Regions from separate parts of the Homo sapiens genome. Here all the other regions are linked to region 1. Evidence: promoter capture Hi-C in human tissues and cell types (Jung and others, 2019). All regions are on one chromosome and are shown on one strand. The core of a region is centred on a gene start or on the middle of the fragment in contact, and the rest is flanking DNA. Distances in the headings are between cores, read along the strand shown.

The links. Contacts are between HindIII fragments. The study calls those that stand out against the background at their distance.
Region 2: a contact is called between a fragment that was not itself captured here and the fragment with the promoter of BOD1L2 in region 1, in 1 of the 25 tissues and cell types used here (liver).
Region 3: a fragment that was not itself captured here is called in contact with the fragment with the promoter of BOD1L2 in region 1 in 4 of the 25 tissues and cell types used here (IMR-90 fibroblasts, hippocampus, mesenchymal stem cells and 1 more).

The regions. Positions count from the first base shown.
Region 1 is chr18:57,144,091-57,148,867 of GRCh38, forward strand. It overlaps BOD1L2 (biorientation of chromosomes in cell division 1 like 2), which reads left to right and starts at 2,997. Exons shown (of 1, transcript NM_001257964.2): 1 at 2,997-4,777. The coding sequence starts at 3,223. The coding sequence ends at 3,741. RefSeq lists an enhancer at 3,166-3,761. The HindIII fragment of the contact is 20,182 bases long and covers 1,429-4,777 here.
Region 2 is chr18:57,486,525-57,490,742 of GRCh38, forward strand. ONECUT2 (one cut homeobox 2) reads left to right here. Exons shown (of 2, transcript NM_004852.3): 2 at 1-4,218. Among named protein-coding and RNA genes, the nearest start is that of ONECUT2, 53 kb to the left of the region's middle. The HindIII fragment of the contact is 3,886 bases long and covers 18-3,903 here.
Region 3 is chr18:56,781,126-56,785,959 of GRCh38, forward strand. WDR7 (WD repeat domain 7) reads left to right here. Exons shown (of 28, transcript NM_015285.3): 19 at 408-531. Among named protein-coding and RNA genes, the nearest start is that of WDR7, 130 kb to the left of the region's middle. The HindIII fragment of the contact is 4,854 bases long and covers 825-4,834 here.

The DNA.
Region 1 (4,777 bases), core at 1,747-4,246:
TCCAGTATATTTACTCTTCTGAATTTTAGGATTAACTCCAGGAGTGGTAGCTGAAGCTGTCAGCAGCCAGAAACATTTCAATTTGAGTTGATTAGTCCAGTTTTTTCCTTTATCAGAAGTGGAGAGAAGTGGGCTGGAAAGGAGTGAATATGCAGAAAGTGCTTTGGTATTTGGGGAGGAGCTAAGAAAGGTATAAGTGATGTGGTCAAGGTGACTGGGAAGGAAACAGAACACAGAGCGTTAGGATGGGGGTGGAGGGGACACTAAAGATGTAGGAAGAGATGAAGGTAGAAAACACCAAAAGTTTTACCTGTAGAGATGTCACAAGAAGTATAGCAAAGACAAAGTCTTCCTGAGTCATAAAGGCAAGGGTCATCCCTACCCTTGAACAATACTGGTCTAGGTGCCTATGTAATACATGAGGAAAATTGATACTGATAAAGACTATTGACTGTTTCCTACCAGGTAATATTCAGAATGTCATCCCTCCTAGGCATCCTTGCATGTTAGAAGCTATGATATGAGATTATTGACAGAGTCTGTAATATTTTCTTGGTGAAATATACAATCTCTGAGTTATGCTAAGGATCATAGAACACTCTGGTATCTACATTTCAGAGTCTGACACTAGTGTGATTGCGGGTGTGGGATTAGTGGGTGGGAAGATGGTGTGATCTGTGTGATTGTGGGTGGGTGTGGTGGGGGAATGGATGTGGTCTGAGTTAGATGGCATGTGCCTGTGTGTATCTGTGTGTGTAGTTGCGGTGGGAGGCACTGGTTTGAATCAGCATGGGGCTTGCCTTGTCCGACAGGCAGCTGTCAGCCAAGGGGCACTTCCAGTTGTAATTGAGAAATGGCAGTGTGCTATCTCTCCCGGAGTGGGATGATAGTAATTAATTGTTCATTGATCCCTGCAGGTCAGCTAGAGGTCAGGGAAGTTACTCTAGTGGCCTTATAGTTTGCCAGGCAACCGGGAGCAGTGGTTTGAAGCCTCGGTGAGAGGTGAGAACTGTCCTGTGCCCTAAACCCTGATCCAAGGTGATGGGATAATTATGGTAACTTAATGTTTATGATTACAAATAATACACAAGTCAGCTATTCAGAAAAACCATGCCAGCACACTATTTAAGACTTGGGGAGGATGTGGAGAAAAGGTGTTTGACAGTGAACATTTTTCAGTACAGAATGGAACACTGCAATATGATTGTTATTATCATCACTTTCAAAAGCTTAGGTAAGTGTCCCTCTGTGGGTGAGGCTGTGATTGGAGAACCCCATAGATCTCATCTTGGATCCACATAGGTGATTGCATTCTAAGAGAACTCCTGTGCAATCTGAAGGGCTCATGCACAGTGAGGGGATAAATGAAGACTCAGTTCAGGCTCCAGCACTTCTGCAAAGTCTTCTTCCATCTGCCACGTTCTCCCAGGCTTCAGTGTTCTCCAACACATGACAGGGACACCCTCCTTTCATCTATGCAATCTTTATTCTGCAAATATTAATGGTGCCTCTCTTTTGTTCCAGGCACCATGCTAGGTGTGCATGTTGCATCTAAGTTCCCATGGAGCTTGTGTATGTCCTCAATGGTTTTCTCTGTCAACATCTCCCCTCTCCAACTAGATTGTAAGCTTTTCAAAGGCTGGCCATGTTGCCTGTCTTAAACAACAGCCACAGCAAACATTTATTGAGTGTTAGACTGGGCCAGGCACGTGGAGAGCTCCATAAAGCTTAGCACAGGGCCACATCGACTAGTCCCTCAATAAATATTGATTAATTTAAAAAAATACAGAACTGAATTGTCGAGCTGATCATGGGGATGGTGAGGAGCATAGGTAGGGGGTTGCTGTGGTGAAGTCTTGGTAGGTTCACTGTCTCCTGTGGGATGAGATTCAGAATACGTCCATCTGAGGCATCTGTACTTGTATGTCAGAAGCTATGGGGTGAGGTTATTGACAGAGTCTGTTGTGTAAACTTTCTTTGTGAAATATACTACCTTTAAGCTATGTTACGGCTTATAGAACAATGTGGTGTCTACATCTCAGGGGCATTTTAATTCAGGGAAGTGAGTGTTGGGGTGAAATCAGGGATCTGCTTTTCTTTTGAAATATTGATAGAAGGTTCTTTCTGTGCACCTGCACTTCTCTATTGGATGGCGCTGGATGTGGTTGCCTTTTGTGGCTCTTGGTTGCAATACAGTTCTCTTGTTGAAATGACCTCCTTCTGACTGACACATCTGCCCTAGGCTCATCAATGGCTACCAAAGCCAATGGACACCTTGTGGAACATAGTGTGGCATTTCACCCATGGCCTTCATGAAATGTACCTTTTGCGGTCTATGATCCAAGGCTTTTGTAGTTTTCCCTCCATCTTTTTAGTGTTGTTCTCAGTCCCCCTCATGGGCTCTCCAGGTGTTCCTCTATCTCTTCTAAGTTCTCCATTGTAATTGCCACCTATAGTCTCTACCTTCAGTGAGTTAGATGTCTCTCCCCAGCCCCTAGTCCTTGTATCTTTGGACTTCATAGGCAGATGTCTGCATCTGAATAACCCATACCCATCTTAAACTAGTAAATAAAAATGGAATGCACGATCATGTCTCTGTCTCCCATCCTCACCTCTATACCTGTTCTCCATTTAGTAAATGGCACCTCCATGCACCTGCCCAAGTGAGAAGCCTGGGGGTCATCCTTGACCCTCTCCTTTCCCTCGTCCCTCACCCCGTTGTTCTCCAATCCCTGGGATGAGTCTATCTCCTAAATATCTCTTGTATCCCTGTTACCTTCTTCACCTGCCAGGCCACGAAGATCATTCACTCCTCGCCATCTCCTTCTTAGGGCACTGAAATGGTTGCTGAAATTGTCTCCCTGTTTCGCCCTTGCCCACTGGCATTTGTTTCCCACCTCCCTCTTAGAGATCTTTTAAGAAATGCAGATTACGGTTCCCGCCTCACAATGCAAAGGTCAACGGTGACGCCATCTGGAGCGCGCTTGGAATCCAGCAGGCGGTTGCTGCCGCGTCTTCCACAACCTCCGCGGTCTGGAGCTGGCCTCCCCCACCGCCGCCCCAACCACCGGCCCCGCCGCCATCACCACCACCGTCACCTCCGCCGCTGCCTCCTTGGGGCCCTCCTCCTTCACCGCCCCCTTAGCCACCTCTACACATTCTAGGCTTTCTGTCCTGGAGAAGAAGCTATAATCGGTTTCCTTGTGGGCCCGGTGCGCAGCCATGGCGGACGGTGGCGGCGGCGGCAGCGGCGGTGCGGGCCCGGCCTCGACCCGGGCCAGCGGGGGCGGCGGCCCCATCAACCCGGCCTCGTTGCCCCCTGGCGACCCTCAGCTCATCGCTATCATCGTGGGGCAGCTCAAGAGCAGGGGCCTTTTTGACAGCTTCCGCCGGGACTGCAAGGCTGACGTGGACACCAAGCCAGCTTACCAAAACCTGAGCCAGAAAGCGGATAATTTTGTGTCGACACATCTGGACAAGCAGGAATGGAATCCTCCAGCAAACGACAACCAACTGCACGATGGTCTGAGGCAGAGTGTGGTTCAGTCAGGGAGGTCAGAAGCTGGAGTGGACAGGATTAGTTCTCAGGTGGTGGATCCAAAACTAAACCACATCTTCAGGCCACAAATAGAACAAATAATTCATGAATTCCTGGTGGCCCAGAAAGAAGCAGCTGTGCCAGCACTCCCTCCAGAGCCAGAAGGCCAGGACCCTCCAGCTCCGTCTCAGGACACTTCCTAAGAATATGCCTGACAGCTTTTGAAAGCGCTATTTAATTTTTGGTGAAGAAATGGATTCGGTTACATAAGAGTGCAGTTTCAGATTGAAGATAAGCCAAGTTCATCACTGAGCTCAAGATTTCCACCTCGACCATGAGCAGTGACCAGATTGAAAGGGAAGCAAGTTCGCCAGAGAGAAAGTTGACCGTGGCACCCTCCTGCATTGCGCTGCCATTTGGCCAGCCTTTCCAAGGGCATGACACCAAACACACACTACAGAGAGGGAAACACTACCGCGACCCAGGATTGTCCTGAAACAGACATCTATACTTGAACATGGAGACTGCACATGGATTTTAGGGTTTGTGCTCTGAGATAAACGAAAGCTACAGCGAGAGAACATAACCAATCCCAAAGACAATTTCAAAGAACAATGACAGTAAAGGTTAACTGGGAGGAATATTTGACAGTACTTATTTGATATTGTCTCTCAGAGTTGCAAACTAGATTGTACACAACATTAGTGTCAGATAGCTTTGAAGTTGTGACCTTCTTGTACATGAATCTTCTAGCCAGTTTCCTTTCCTTTGTAAGAGATAACAAAGCATGAAACCCTAGAATGAGTGAGAAGTTCAGACATTAGGTATAAGGAAACTCATTTGCAGACTCTCTGTCCAAGAATGCTTCCTGTCTTGCAGGGGCTAGTGAGTCTTGGGTGTGTTTATGTTATGCTCACATTTGTGTTTTATTTGAAAAGTGGATGGTCAATAAATGGCTTATCTTTCAACTGCAACAACAAAAAAGAAATGCAGATTTACATCCTTTTCCTCTTTAAGCTCCGTCAGTTTTCTGATATTTCTAGAAGGTCAGACACCTGGCATGGTTTATGAGGCCCGTGATAATGGGGCCCCTGGTCACCTCTGCTGCCCCGTACACTGTCATTTCTCATATGACAACCATGCCCATGACTATCCTGGACACCCTGTGTTCCCTCTGCTCACTGTGAAGGGAATGCCCTCAACCACTCCTACCCTCCTTTAAGACTCAGCTCCTGAGGA
Region 2 (4,218 bases), core at 711-3,210, 340 kb after region 1:
TCATAGACAATAGTGTTTAGAGTAATGTTATTATAGCGTATGTAATAAATTATTCACTGTTTCTTTTGGTAACTGTGATTTAAAAAAAGAAAAAAGAAAAAAAAGCTTTATACGTTTTAGGTTGTGCTTTTGTAATAGATGAAAAAAGGTGCGCTTAAAAAGAAAATGTATGTTTTTTTCCCCCTTTGGATTTTATTTATGCTGGATTGGGGAAAGTTGCAGAATGAGCCCAAAGTTTACAGTTTCATATTTTGCTGAAGAAACAATCTGTGTTCATTTGCTCTGTTGAAAAGAATAATTATTTTCTACATTTGTGCCACTTGGTCTGAACAATTAATTGTTCCGTGTTAACAGTGTAGTATTATGATTAGCAACTGCCAATCAGTGCTATAATTTTATGCATGAGGCTAAAAATTTAGCAGTGTGATGCATTGTGGTCTTAATAGCAACATTTTTCATTTTGAACTAGATCTTCCCCTTTGGTTCAATGGACTTTATTTATGCATGGGCGCCTATTGTTTGTTAGCAGTTGTGGAACAGTTGTGTATACATTAAACTGTGAAAATGTACACAGTTCAGCCTCAGACGGTGGTAATATTGGTTTTATTGGGAGATGTGTCACCTCGAAAATACCCTTTACATCTGTTGGGATCTGAAAATGAGTCACATTGAATTGGGTTCCAGCTTTATAATGAGAAACGTTATTCCTAATTTTTGAGTTAGCCAATTTGCATTCCACAAATTGGGATCCTCATAACCCAAATATATCACCGTATGTGAGAGGGATTTGAAAGCGAGTATTGAAAAACTCACCTTTGCATATTTAATTTCCACCAAAAGGAGTTATTTTGGCTTTATGCTCATGAACTTAGACCTAACTGGCCATGTATATGTAGATGCAAATTCATCTAGCTGTGGCCCTCTTTGATCTCTGCTTGGGAATGGCTATTTTTGACTATGCGTGGTTTCTTCTCGTATTTTGTGATCAGGTCAGCTCCCAGTAGAAACTCAAATGGCATCAATATTACTAACTCTTCTCTGCCCACTTCTCTTTTGTCCACTCTCCTAGACATTCCCACCAACTGTTCCAGTGATTTGGGCAAAAATACGCAGCCATTTCCCAAAACTTCACATGTGCAGCTATCATGGCTGTCCCTCCCTAGACTTGGAGGTGACTCTCACTTAATTTTTACCTGCCCAACAATGTTCCATCTACCATCTAAAAGGTAATATAAGAAGAAGTTTTGAAACCCACTTTAGGAAAACCATCTTCTTTAAATCCTTCAATTATCTGAGGCCTCTATATGTCAAAACTATTTTTCAGTTGCAGGGGATTGGGCAAACTTGTTCTTTCTTATACTTGGGTTCAAAGACCCATTCTCCAGTTTCATATTTCCCAAACCAAAATGCTTGACATAAAGCCAAATCAACTGCCAAGCACACTTTATTTTGCATAGGAGTATGCAGCCTAGGGAACCTTGGTTGAAAAGCAGCAGTCTGCTATGCAAAATATTGGAAATCACTGACAGTGTAGCATTCATATTATCTGTCAATGAGGGTATATTGGGAACGTGCTCTCGTGAATAATAAAAAGCAACATATTTTTATTTGGCCTTATAAATTAGGTTGTGGTAATGTAAACTTTGATATATAGTCTTTTTATTTTTCTCTTATTAATCTGCCAAAGATGGGAACAGATACAAGAATTTTTCAAATTGGCTTTTGTAAGACAATTGATGATTGTAATAGTGTTTAATCTTCCAGAAAGCTTTATATGTTGTTCCACAATAAAATTGATATTTGTTTCAGCAAAGTTTTCCTGACACTCACAAACCCACAAACTGTTCCTCTTAATGCAGATATTGTAGAATCTACAAAGTTCAAATCCATTTTTGATCCAAAGAAAGTAGAGGAGTATTTGAGACATGAGTGTACCCAGCCCTTTTTTTAATCACAGGCAATGCATGGGTCTGGCTGGTTACACTTTGCCAAGAAGACTTGTCTTATGAAACCCAAGGTATATTTTGTTATGCCATTTTATGTCCTTTTCTTTTAACATTGTGGAAAGTGGTATGTTGAATCAAGTGTAAGCTGAGTTTTCCAGACAACTGAAGTAGCTACATCATGAATGTTATTTTGTTATTAAAGGGTTTTTACTCAGTGCTTTGTGCCAATGGATGTCCTTTTCCTTGGAGACACATAACTACAAAATTACCTCAGCTTGGCCTGGTTTTCTCTCCTGCCCTCTTGGGGAAACATGGGCCTGGCCTGGGAAAAGGCAGGTCATGGGCTGGAAGGTAGGTTTTGGTACTAGGAAGAAATCTCTGTATCTGTCAGCTTTAAAGAGAACTGGGCCAAAAATCTCTAACCTCACTCTCTCTGGACTCCAACACTTCCCTGCAATCCTTTGGTCTTGAGCATGTGCCAGCATGAAGGCAGACTCCAGTTCATACATGAAAGGCAAGAAAAAGAAAATAGTAACCTTGAATCTTCTGTGGGCCACCAGGCACTCACCTTTCCCCACCTTGCACACTATCCAGTCAAGGCTATTGCAGCCCATCTGGTGGCTTTACATGGGACATTACCAAAGGCTTCTTCCTCCATCCTGGGGTTGCAAAGGATCCAGGTCCCCTCCATCCAGTGGGGCTCTTCCACATCAGAAGTCCCCCTCCCACCATCCTCTGCATCCTGTTTAGCTATCCCATCTATACCTTTTGGAGATGATTATTTAGAAAACAAAGAAAGGTATGGAATGGGGTTTCCTATTGTTTGCTAGGTTATATTTTAGCAATTCTCAATTCTTTGATCTGGAAAAATACAAGAGGGAAAAGGAGACCCCACTATCTCCCTGTGCTTTGCTCCCATCTCAGGGGGCAGGGGCAGTGCACATTGCCTATGCTGTTGATCTGTCTTGGGCGACAGGCTGAATCACAGCTATTGCCCCAGCCAAAAACATGGCCCATCAATGCCTACTTTATCTCTGCTTGAAAATCCTATTCAAAAAGTTGTAGAGTTTGAGGTTTTTATCCCCCCATATCCTTTGCTTTGGTCCAGTTTGGCCTTTAGCATAAGAGTCAGCTTTATCTCTAGGAAAGTTTTTTCAGATTATGACAAGGAACCTGCCACCTGGGAAGAAAAGAGTCCGAAGACTAGCAATCGGATAGGTAGTCATACCATTAACAGATACTTCCTTGAAGGTAGAATATTATTTCCTTTCTTTACAGTTTTGTGTTACACAAGTCCAAGTGGTGCCAGCAAACTTCTTACCGTGAAATGTTGTAAAACACCTGGCATACTGAAATTTCTGAAACAAAAACACAAGCTCCACATTGATAACTTGATAAATAACCACTAAAGTTTAGATGCAGGGACTGAGATGATACAGGCAAAATCTTGGTGTTGGTTTCTCTTTTAATTCGTATCTTCGATCACCTAACCTTTCTCAATCCAAGAGCAGTTCAGTCTTTTCTCCCCAAGTCTAGGATGCCAAAGAGCATCATAGGAAAAGATAATTAGGGATTGACCAGCATTTCAATTAGTTCTCTTCTTCATCTTTGCATTTCTCAAAAGTGTTCTCCTGGACCAGAGGGAAAGAGCTGGTCCATTTTTTTTCATTCTTTCTATTCAAATTTTTCCACCCAGACAATACTTTATTAACACAGATACTGTAGATCCTTCCTTGGTCAGTGAATTATTACAAGAGGAGCTATCCTTCCACCAAAGTGAGTGAAAACAAGTTCCAGTATCTTTTCTTCCATCCAGTTTTGTTCTCAGAATCCAAGTCAGTCCTGGGTCTTTTCTCACTTTAGACCCTGGCCTCAGATGTGTTTATTCTTGCTATTTAAAAATACCTTTAAATTTCACATGCTGGCCTGCAGAACTTGCATCCTTTGTTCTATACTGTTGACTGCTTGATGGTATTGAAAGGTGACTATAATGAGGGAAGAAAGGAGGAGGTAAAGAGAGAAGAATTTGTCCCAGATCTGTTTAAAGTTTCAAAATTTAAAAAGGGACCCATTAAATTATGGGAAAATGGCTATAGAGTGTGAGCCTCCGTTGACCATATGCTCAAAGACCGTACTCTGCCACCTGCCTTCCAGGTAGCTATTCTAGAAACTCAGTCCTTTGTGGAAACCCAACTACCTTTTAAAAGTCTCTTTCCAGATTCCAAAAGGACAAGAGATCAGAGAGTCACATATACGCCTCTTGTTTTATTTT
Region 3 (4,834 bases), core at 2,002-4,501, 360 kb before region 1:
TTAACTTCAAGCTAAAAAAACAATAGCTCTCACAGTGGCTTAACAATAATGTTAATATAGAAATTTTAAAAGTAAAATGCTACATTAAAGTTCAAAAATGCTTTGGAAAATGCAGTTTTAAAGTTCAAGAATGCTTTGGAAAATGCAGTGATTAAATTGTTGAAACCTAATTCTTTCCATTAGTGTTAAAATAGTTTTCAGTGAAATCATTAATTAAAATATCTTTGATGATTTGCTAGCATCTGATTTTTAAGTAGTTAACTCATTCGGTTAATAGTGTTTTTCATGTAAATAAATATGGTTTTTATGTTTTCTAGCCTTATTTCATTATAAATTTTCTAGTTTATGAATATTCACCTCCTCAACTAATCTGCTTTCTGCTTTTACATTTGGGTCTGTGGTCTTAGGTGAGAGAAGCCGCGCAGGCCCTGCTTCTGGCGGAACTGAGAAGAATTGAGCAGGCAGGCAGGAAGGAAGCCATTGATGCCTGGGCTCCTTACTTACCTCAGTACATAGACCACGTCATATCACGTAAGAGTTCTCATGCTTCTCTACAAAGCTTTGCAGGAATATGTAGAAAAGGTACCTGTACTCACAAATATATATGCTACTACCCATCAACAAAAATGAGTCACTGACCTTAAAGTGAAAAGAACAGATCCTCAAATTCACTTTATTATTTTCTGAATCTCTGTAGTTTGGAACTTGCTTTAAAAAACAAAAGGCAAAGGCTGTCTATATCAAAATATTCATTAATGAACTGACTTTTATAAATGAATTCCCCATCAAACATCCTACTCTAGTACTAACATGTGCCTCCGCCCATTGCATTATTATGCTTATGGATGCCAGCTTGTTCGATATGGATCTGATGATATGCAAGTGCAGATACAAGGCAAACTCTCTTGCTAGTTAAAGTTGGGATTGTGAATCCTTAGAAAAACAAAGATCTGATAGAGTTAGACTCAGGCAATATTTACAAAGAGAAAATTGGGAAGGATTTTGATGGATAAATCTTTCAAAAGAGTATAATTTGAAAGGATTAGAAAAATTGTTGAAATTTTTTGAATATTCTTTTGCAAAATAAAAGCTTTATAATTATGTTGCTACATTGAATGTGCATTGGAAAAGAGTTGTATTTTGCTATCATAATGAGCATACTCATTCCCAGTTCATCATTTGGTTGGTTTTGTATTTTTGTTTGGTTTGTTTTATATTTTTCTAAAAACAGTTTAGTTACTAAATAATTTTTTTAAGGTCCCTCAGTTACTAAGTGACTAAATTATAATCAATATAATTGAGTCAAATAAAATTTTAATTTTGCTCTTAATTATATTGATTAAAAAATTTTACCCTAAATTATATTGAATTAAAATTAAAATTTTACCCTAAATTATATTCATTGTAAGATAAATTTTCAGTTTTGCAAGATAAAGTGTGAGTGAAACTTTAAAAAAAACTTTTTATTATGAAAATTTGGCCTGGGTTTTAGGTGGACTCATTTTAAATGACCTTTTGCCAATACCAGTTATTCTTTGTAATGAAATACTCATTACACATGTCAAGATGGACAGTACATTATTATACAAGAAGGAAAATGAAAACAAAATTCAGAAAGGTTTATAACTTTTATATCTGGTTTAAACTCTACCAGATCTTTGCCAGTGGTGACTCTAGTGGATGTTTAATCAAGCATGTGACCTTGGGCACTTTTCTTAAGCTTTCTTAGTCTCAGTTTTATCGCAGATGAAATAAAGATGATAATAGGACTTTATAGGGTTATTATGTGTGTGGCATGAGTTAATCTTTGTTAAGTGCGTAGAACAATTCCTAGCCCATAGTAAGCATAATACTTTTGTTAAATACTTTATAATCTATAAAAATGCAAATATTTATTTCACTTATAGCCGAAGTATCACACATTAACAGCTCCAGTGAAAATTCTTAATTGTTTGAGCAATAAAATATTTACTTAGTGAATATAGGTTATCATTTGCTTTCTGGAAATTTTTCTATTTTAATAAAGCAAATTAAGTTAAAAAAAAAAACAAGGCATCTAGACATATAGACTCTAAGTTATTAGGCTTAAGATTGTTTTAAAAATATGTGCAGATTTTCAAATTTCCAGAATATAAAAAAGAGTTTCAAAAAAATAAAATTGGGATGAAAAGAACTTTGTCTTTGAGTAGATGAGAAGGTAGTCCGGAAAAAGTGTTCTTTGTTCATAATTTGTGGGCATTAACTTTATAATATTCCAGAAAATATAGTTAGATGATCATCTCATCATAAGCTTTATTGAATATAAGATCCCCAAAATTAAGGACAAACTATGACTATAGTATTTACAGAGTTGTTTGAAGGTGAAAATAGGCAATGGCAAATCACTAAAGAATTTTTTTAAAAATAAGAATGCTATTATGGAAATATTGAGACATTGGTGCTTTTAAGACATCTTTATTCCAAATGGACTCGTGTGAAGTAGGGAAATTGATTAAAGTAGAATAACTAGCTGGCAGGCTATTGCAGAAGGGAGGTTATGGGAACCAGACCTAAATGTAGATAGGGTAGAATAAAAGATAATTTCTAAGACTTGATTATTGATTGCTTATAAAGGTCTAAGAAAAACACCAAAGATTAGTACAGGGTTGTATTCTTGACAGAGAAAAACGTTGGGAAAAAGAGATGCCATTAGCAATTGTAGTGGATGCCTTTTTATTTTATTCCTGGGAAGAAGAGAATAAGTTAGCTACAAGGTAAAGGCAAAATATAGCCACAAATTACTCCCTGAAGCAGTGCCAGAACTGTGTATGTTGTTTGGAGAGAGGTGTGTTAGCAGGCCCAGAGAGAATAAAATATAAGTAAAATAGTAATACCTACCATTAATTGGACACTTTGTCTGCGTCAGGCTTTGCTAAGTATCTGGTCTACGTTATTTCATTTAACCATTACAATAACCTTGTAAAGTACCCACTATTGCCATCACGGCCTGCCTCTGCCCCCAGCCTTTTGTTTTCTTTCAGAGGAGTAAATGGGAGGCCAGGAGAGATTAAAGAATTTTCTGAAGGTCCCTCAGTTACTAAGTGACAGACTCCAAAACTTATTCTTGTAACCACTATTTATTCCTTTTTTTAAAAAATTATTTTTTATTTCAATAGCTTTTGGTGTATAAATGGTTTTTGGTTACATAGATGGAGTGTAAGGTGGTAAAGTGTGAGATTTTAGTGCAGCCTTCACCTGGAGGGTAAAGGTGCACATTGCTGTACATTATACCCAATACGTAGCTTTTTTTATCCCTCACCCTTCCTCCACCCTTCCCCTTCTGAGTCTCCATAATCCATTATATCACTCTGTGTGACTTTGCATACTCAGAATTTAGCTCCCACTTATAAGTGAGAACGTATATTAATCACTATTTATTCCATCTTGCTTGCTCTGGCATCCTTGGATCTTAAATGGGGATGAAGATGGAAGAATGAGTAGATACTTAGCTTAACTAATATTGCTTTCAGACACTGTTCTTTGCAGCCGTGTTACAGTTAACGACAACAAAATGGAGTCACAAAAATTGTAAGAAAATGACTCTTTGATGGGTCTGGTCACTGTTTAAGTATAAAGTAGGCTGTTCTTATGTCATATTTAAACCTTTCTGTTTATGTATTATGTTTATGTTGTATATTTAAGTTTTGTATTTATGTAAGTCTTTTGTATTTGATTATAGTATCCCAGAGTACTTCATATATTAGCTAAATGCTGGCTTACTTAAAACTTTGATCTTGTCATTTATTGTTGTTGTTTTTTTTTTTGTGAAAGACAAACATGCATTCTACATGTAACTGAAACATGCACTGACAACTCTTGATATAATACATTAATCTTTTCTGGAACTTCTACATTGACTGAGTGTTAAACTCGTTTTAGTTTGCTTTACTGTGAGCTTTCTATTTTAATAAAAGGGTGTCAGGCTAAGGGAGTAGGGATTCTGAACGTATGAAAGGAGAAGAAAGCTTACAACAAATGAGGAATGACCACATAGGGCTGTTGAACAGATTTGCTGTCCGAAGGGATCAAAAGGTTATGGAGCCAGCTGGTAGACAGCCCACACCTGCCATCAACGTGCTTGTACTGAAATCGCCTCTACCATTGTCATTAATGTTTGAGATGATCATTGTGGCAAGTTACATCGTAAAGTATTGCTTTAGAAATGCAAAACCTGTTTCTAGCATAAGAATCTTCTTTGAAAATGGGCAAAATATTAAACAATATATCTGACAAATATACCACCCATCAGATATTTTCTTATAATTTAATAATTCTAGGCACTTTACAAAATGCAATAATTCCCTAAGCAATCTTGGCAGCTCCTAACTTAAAATTGAGCTTTGTCTAAGAGTCCTTTTCTTACATATTTGTCTGAAAATCAGAAAACGCTCTTACCTGAAGAGCAGAATGGCATACTGGGCTGATGGACTGTGATAGCTCTTCATCTTAGAGATGAAGTTTAATGTGGGTGGTAACTATCTCTACTTCACAGTCCGTAAGTGATTGGGCTGGGACTAAGATGATAAAGCATCTGGTCTTACTGACTGGGATCTTCTATATTTTATTTAGGTACATTATGCAATAAAAAGCCGTTTGCAGGTTAGTTTGAGAATGTAAGGAAAACAATGAGCCAGTTGCTTTTCTCAGGATTCTTTTTTTCTTTTTCTTTTTTTTTTTTTTTTAAAGAGACAGGGTCTCGCTGTGTTGTCCTGGCTGGACTTGAACTCCTAGGCTCAAGGGATCTTCCCGCCTCAGCCTCCTGAGTAGCTGGAACTAAAGGTGCACACCACCATGC